Regions from separate parts of the Homo sapiens genome. Here region 1 is linked to region 2. Evidence: promoter capture Hi-C in 16 types of primary human blood cells and fetal thymus (Javierre and others, 2016). All regions are on one chromosome and are shown on one strand. The core of a region is centred on a gene start or on the middle of the fragment in contact, and the rest is flanking DNA. Distances in the headings are between cores, read along the strand shown.

Evidence for each region. Contacts are between HindIII fragments. The CHiCAGO score rates a contact against its expected background, and 5 or more counts as called.
Region 1: a fragment that was not itself captured here is called in contact with the fragment with the promoter of FEM1C in region 2 in 1 of 17 cell types (non-activated CD4 T cells); the score reaches 8.0 in non-activated CD4 T cells.

What each region holds. Positions count from the first base shown.
Region 1 is chr5:126,848,025-126,851,413 of GRCh38, reverse strand. No RefSeq gene overlaps it. Among named protein-coding and RNA genes, the nearest start is that of LMNB1, 73 kb to the right of the region's middle. RefSeq lists an enhancer at 3,251-3,389. The HindIII fragment of the contact is 7,004 bases long and covers 1-3,389 here.
Region 2 is chr5:115,543,337-115,547,124 of GRCh38, reverse strand. FEM1C (fem-1 homolog C) reads left to right here and starts at 2,350. Exons shown (of 3, transcript NM_020177.3): 1 at 2,350-2,602; 2 at 3,442-3,788. The coding sequence starts at 3,632. RefSeq lists silencers at 2,060-2,399, 2,500-2,549, 2,600-2,769 and enhancers at 2,199-2,493, 2,035-2,801. The HindIII fragment of the contact is 1,787 bases long and covers 1,376-3,162 here.

The DNA of each region.
Region 1 (3,389 bases), core at 518-3,017, about 11 Mb before region 2:
AAAGCAGATTTTGCCACTTATTTAAGTGTTGCTTTTACTTGTCCAAACCGGGTAGGTATAGGGTGGAAGAGGATGTGAGTTATGATTCTCCCAGGTGGGGATCTCTCTTTGAAAGCACTAGGCCCTCAAACTCCAAATTAACCAGGCACTCCCACTTTCTATCCCAAATCCCATCAGAGCAGGGAGAACCAAGTCTCAGGGAACCTCAGGGGAACTCTGAATTCCATGCAATTGGCTGAGCGACATTCTCGGCACACATAGCCTGCCGTTTCCATGAAAGCACTCTGGACTGACCTGGACCCTTGAGTTCGGGTGCCTGTGAGTACCCAGGACCACTCAGGAACACCAGGGAAACAGACTGAGGCTGCAGGACTGTGGCCCCTCTTTCTCCACTGTTCTGTCTGCAATCAAGTTCTGGCTGGAGTCTAGACGGATTCTTCCAAGGTTAGAGCAAAATGCCCTATCAGGATCACCAGCTGTATCCCTTAGCTAATGCTCTGAGAGATCATGGCCAGTTTTTAATAAGCTCAAATCGTCTTAACGAGAAGTCAAAGAATTTGAACCTCCCCCTTAACGTCCCCAACCTTGGAGCTGTTGTCATGACTGCGGAGGCGAGAACTTCACCTTTGAAACTCAGCCTCCTACCAGACAATTCTTTCCTAATGACCATTTCCCATAAAAGACCAGTGCTCCTGAAGCGTGCCGTGTGGTGCCTGCCTTTTATAACAGCAGTTGACCACAGTTGTTGTTCTACACATCGGTGTGAATATTTGATTGATGCCCCCCACCCCCACCCCAACCAGGGTCAGGCAGAAATTTCTTTTCGCTCACCATTGTATTGCCAGTGCACAGCATGCAACTTAGTAAGTGATTAATCAATGTTTGTTGTGGGCCAGGCACAGTGGCTCATGCCTGTAGTCCCAGCACTTTGGGAGGCCAAGGTGGGCAGATCACTTGAAGTCAGGAGTTAGAGACCAGCCTGGCCAATATGGTGAAACCCCATCTCTACTAGAAATACAAAAATTAGCTGGGAATGGTGGCGCACACCTGTAATCCCAGCTACTTGGGAGGCTGAGACAGGAGAATTGCTTGAACTTGGAAGGCAGAGGCTGTATTGCACTCTAGCCTGGGCAACAGTGAGACTCCGTCTCTCAAAAAAAAAAAAAAAGTTTGTTTAATTAATATTAATATTTATTAATAAAATGAGTAAAATGTGGTGTTTCCAGTGTTCTCAATGGCCTTCCTTGTTTAACCACTCAGTTGACTTAACCCAGGAGAAATGTTAATTCTGACTGGCACTATTTTTGCTAATAGACTTACTTAAGCCAACAATAATTAACAGCCCTGCCATTTTATAACAGGACAGCCTCACCTTACTTCCCATCTTAATTCCCGTGATCAAAAAATTTTAAGTTAATTAGTTTTAAATTCCTATTTCTTTACAACCTACTATATTGGTATGACCATCTTACATGGCCTCATTTATTCCACTATCAACTCTTTGTAACAGGATCTTTAGTTCCAATTTACAGATAAGGAAACTGAGATGCAGGAATGTTAGCTTTTTTAGACTTACATCACTAAGTGACAGCAACTTAGTGTCATTAACTACTTCTCTTATCAAGGGTTTTCCATTCACAGACCTAGTTCAAAGGCAAAAACAATGTGCTGTTTATTCTTTCTACGTGAAGTCTATCTATGGAGAAGACCCATCTATGTGGGAAAGTATAAATTTGGGACATAACCCATGACTATAATTGAATTCTCTATCATTAAAAAATCATTTATTTTATTTCCTTTCCAATCAAAGCTGAATCACCAGTTCCAATAATTCCTGTTATTCACAGCATCCCCACCCTACCCCCATCAGGATAACTTGGATGTACTTGCATACCCTCTGGGTCATTTTCAACACTTCCTAGATACAGTAACACATTGCATCACTGGGGTCCAAACTGCTTTCACCTACTTGCTGGGTGGTGTGTTAGCTTACCTAAAGGTGACTATCCCCCCAAAGGAGAGTTTTAAATCAGAACACTTAACTACCTCCCTGATGTCAGGGAAAGTGCATCCTGAAACAGCCAGTTTAGGAAAGGTCATTCTACCAGGGCTGTGGCTTTCTGCCTTATCTGAGAGCTTACGATGCGATAGTGGGAGGAAGGCAGATTGAGCAAGAGCTGGAGCTGTTCCTGCTCCTAAGTCCATCTTCATACGCTGAGAGGTGCAAATCAGCTAATATACAAGAAAGCATTTTCTAAACCTCACCATGAAAACAATGTTTATTACATTTGCCATTAATTTGAAGAACATTAGAAACAACAGAGATTTTAAATAGGGATTTGGGGATTATCCGACAGTTGGAATTGTTCCCATTCATTTCAACAATTAATAGCACCGTTTTCATTAGTAAACTGGCTATGTTATTTTTTTTTTTGACAGCTCCCTGGGATAGCAGAATAGGCATAGTCATCAAGGATAATAGAACTGTGATCACACTGAGTTCCTCAAGAAAAGAACTGGCTGTCTCATCTTGGTATTCTTGATGCCTTGCTCAGTAGCGCCTGGCAAAACTAAATCTCCCAGTGAATGGTTGGTGAAGGAATGAACAAGTGAATAAATGACAACCTGTGGGCCTGTTATCCCATCTACAAAACAAGGACAATACTAATAATGCAGTATTGTGAGCTGTAAGGTAATGTTTGATGTGACAACTCAAGCATGAGTGAACATTCAATAAATGTTTGCCCCCTTTCCTTTCACCCTGCTTCCTCTTGATGGGTCTTATGCTGCTTTTCTGCCTTCCTATGTGAGAGTGAAAGTGTCCCGTGTGTCAGAGACCAACACGTGCTGGTGTGTACTCCCCACATGTCAGAGCAGCACTGCGTTTCCAGACCCTGCCCCTGTCGGTTTCTCCCAGTGGGGTCCCCAGTGTTCCCCAGCTGTAAGGTCCGGTAAGGGCCCAGCTTCAGGTCCCCTCTGGGATTTCTGGTATAAGGTCTGCCTGAGTGACCCAAAGCATTCACCTCTAGCACCCACGCCCTTCTTTCTCCAGGGAAGGACCCCTCCCAGAAGGATTGTAATAATACGCATTACTTTTCCTGGTAATGAAATGCAACATGTCTCGGGATAGAACCCAGGCTCACTATTTCTTTTATGACATAATATGAATGTTTGCAGATCTTGATTTTTTTTTTCCGAGTTCAAATTTCATAACAATTTTCCTCTTAGCAAGACAAAAATTTTTTAAAGAGAAATGATCTGATTCAGTAGCTGGGAAAACAGTTCATAGGAAAATTCTGTGAAAACCCTATGATCCCAGAAAGAGCTTGGGTTGAGTCCCTTCCTGGCATCTGCTGGTTGGAAGAGGCAGCGTAACAAGGGAGTGAAAG
Region 2 (3,788 bases), core at 1,101-3,600:
GAATTGGCAAAGATTGCTGAGCCTTTTATAACCCAGAGCAATGCCTGTAAGATTCTCAAATGTCTTTCCTTTTACAAATTGGGAAACATACAGCTATTGTGAAAGAGTTGGGAAATGAGACACCTTGACCATATTCCTTTACCAGCAGATCAATTTTAGGAAAGAACGTAGGTGTAAATTGAAGATTCAGAAACTGGTAGCCTTTTTTTTTTTTTTTTTTTGACAGAGTTTCCTTCTGTGGCCCAGGCTGCAGCACAGTGGTGTGATCATGGCTCACTATAGCCTTGATCTCCCCAGCTCAGCTCAGGTGATCCTGCCACCTCAGCCTCCTGCATGCCATGCCTGACTAATTTTTTGTGTGTGTGTGCGTGTGCGTGCATGTGTGTGTGCGTGTGTGTGGAGTTGGGATTTCACCATGTTGTCCAGGCTGGTCTCGACCTCTTGGGTTCAAGCAATCTGCCTGTCTCAGCCTCCGAAAGTTCTGGGATTACAGGTGTGAGCCACAGCAGAAATTGGTAGCCTTTAAACTAAGTGTCCGTCTATCCCTTAACAATCCCATGAGGGATACAGAGCTCAGTTTGAAGATGGCTGATGTGAATGTTTACATCTTATTGAATTAGGTGAGAGAGACAGGTCAGCTCAGGTTAGGCCTTGGTTGGGACACTGTACACTGTTATCTGTACCCTGGGAGAGTATAGAACTGTGACATATGCTGGGGATAAAACAGCCAGTCCTCTTGGCTGGTTAATTTTTATGGATGGTCAATCTTATCCTTTATACTCTATTCTTTTATATTTTCTTCTCAGTGGCAATTACCTTAACTTCAGTTTTGGGAATCTGATGTTGAGTGTAGTCTGATACTGACTACCTAAGGGAAATACTATGCTATACTTAAAAATTATTAAGACTGTAAAAACATAAGAAACGTTTAGAGTATAGAAAGGAAAAGCAAAATATATAGTTGTATGAAAATTATTTCAATTATGCAAAACTACATAAACTTCTGAACAACACTACAATATACAAAAATGAAGTTGTGATTTTTTATAAATGTTTTTAGTGCTGCATGACTTCTAACATAACGTTATGGATTACATATGCTGAGGGTCAGACTGCCTACTGTAATATTCTATTTCTCCTAGTGGTACTAAGGAATTATGTGAGCTTAAGTTCCCTCAAACAAAGTGATTGAAGGTCCATTTTCAAAAATTCTGTTTTCTCATCAGGATTCATTATGGGCGTTATTTCCCAAACACATTTAAACTTTTTCATCCTAGTTTAATGCAACGTAGGTTTTAGCATCAAATTCCAGAGGTTTATCAACTACTATATGAAGAAGTAATTCTTTTCATTCATATATATAACCTTTTAAGCTTTAGTTCCCGATTTATTACTCAGAGCTCAAGAACCTGACCTCATTGACTTTACATTGCTCTTAGGGTTTACCATTCCTCGTAGCCTTTATGCTTTTTAGAGGCTACTTTAGAAAGAGAGTCAGTTTGACAGCCTCCAAAACTAATCACATTTTCTGAAATTTCAGTTTCCTCCGTGTGTGTTCTGAGGTGTAATTACGAGCTTGGTAATTTCCAGGGCCCACCAAAGTAAGGACGGAAGACTAGTCCGAGAGACTTCACGTGTGTGAGGGTAATACTGGTCCGCACCCAAATTTGAATTTTAGCTCCCATGATTCCCACATATTGTGGGAGGGACCTAGTGGGAGATAATTGAATCAAGAAGGCTGTTTCCCCCATGCTGCTCTGGTGGTAGTGAGTACGTCTCAGGAGAGCTGATTGTTTTATATGGGGTTTCCCTTTTTCCTTGGCTCTGATTTTCCTCTCTTGCCTGCTGCCATGTAAGACGTGCCTTTCCCCTTCTGGCTTGATTGTGAGGCCTCCCCAGCCACGTGGAACTCTGAGTGCATTAAATCTTTTTATCTTTATAAATTACCCAATCTCGGGTATGTCTTTATCAGCAGCGTGAAAACGCACTAATACACTTCCCTTCTGGGGTCTCTGAGATGGGACCGAAAGATTCCCTAAGGGAGCACCCCGAAAATCCGAGAGGAGAAGAGCCAGCGAGATCTCAGAACTCGAGCTGCCTCGGGCCGCTTCGATGGGCACAGATCCGCCCCCTCGCAGCGCCCCGCCCCCCAGCGCGTTGCACGCAGGCACGTCCTCCCAGTAGTTCAGGCCCCGCCCCCTCCCCGTCGCCCCACCCCGGCCGCGACGCCCCGCCCCGCGCCTAGGCTGTTGCTGGCCGCGGCCGCCGCCCTCCCCCGGCCCAATGGCGTGGCGGCACAGTCAGTGATGTGACGCTCAGGCTTGTCCGGCCCCCGGCTCGCAGCCCATTACACCATCCGTCGCAGCAGTCGCTGCAGCCGCTGCAGTCCGAGCCGACTAAGGGCGGGAGGCAGCTCGGGTGGCGGGGCGTGGCGAACAGCGCGGCCGGATTCATTCCTTTGGGGCGCGGAGCATGGAGGAGCTGTGCGGCCGCAGGCGGAGCAGGGCGGCCCGGGCGGCGGTGGGGACAACGGTTTCCCTTTGAAGGGGACGGACAAAGCCCGAGTGACCAGCGGCGGCGGGGAGGACTAGTCCCCGGGCAGGTAGTGGCGGCGGCAGCGGCCTGCCAGGGCTCGGGCCGGGGCCTGAGGTGCCCGCGGAAGGCCTGGGCGGGAAGGAGGGCGCCGGGGGAGCCGAAGGCGGGCAGCGGGCTGGAGGCCACAGCTTGGCCCATCGGGAGGGGGTTGTGGTCGATGGAGGAGATTGGGAGGGGGCTGCCGTTGTCTGGAACAGGGAGAGGGGAAGGTTGTGTTGGGGCGACTGTGGTTTGAGGAACCTGCGGATCATCCCTTGGCGGGGGGTGGGGGGTGATCGAAATGGGGCGGGCGAAGTTAATGACTAAAAGGCAGGCGGATTTCCTGAGAGCCGTGAGTAGTTTTAAAGGAAAGAGAATCTTTCGGGGCACAGTTTTGGCCTTAGCCGGGGTTTGGTGTGTCCGACCTTTTTGTTCTTTCTCGAAACCCGGCCTCAGGCCTTCCAGCCTGGCGCCCTTGGCCAGCTCTCCTGCAGTTGCAAGAAAGAGAAACATTTCTGAACCCGAGTCTCCTGCCTCTTTCGGTTGTACTCTCCCTGGGCGTGTGCAAAGCAAAACTAGAACAAAGCTTGGCTGGTTAGAGCTGGAGGCGAGAAAACGGGCTGCCTGTAGTGTTTAAATTTTCCGCACATGGAGGAGACTGCCTGCGACCAGAACATTTGGGTCTCTGTGTATCCTTCTGTATTTTTCTTTACCACCTTTTCTTTGGGGGTGGGGGGGGTGTGTGGGATGGAGTAGTGCCTGAAGTATAGCTTTTATTCCTTTCTTCCCACAGAAGTGGAAATTAAGAAGTGTTTTGCCTTCTTCTATAGAAAATTAAATGCTGCTACTTTTTTTTTCTTTCTCTAGTTTGGTGCCCTGGTTGTCAGATGTTGGAAAGCAGTAGGACGGAACATACTCTTCGTGGTTGTGTATCCGTTCTGGGGTGCAGCAATTAACATTGGACTTTGGTTCCTGTGACTCTTGCCTGTGTCGATAGAGTTAAACTGGAGCTCTGCTTTGAAAGATAAATAAAGCACAGCCTCTCAACTGGACATAAATGGATCTAAAGACAGCAGTATTTAACGCAGCTCGGGATGGCAAACTCCGGCTTCTCACCAAATTGTTGGCAAGCAAATCCAAAGAGGAGGTTTCCTCCTTGATCTCTGAAAAAACAAATGGGGCCACGCCACTCTTGATGGCCGCCAGGTATGGGC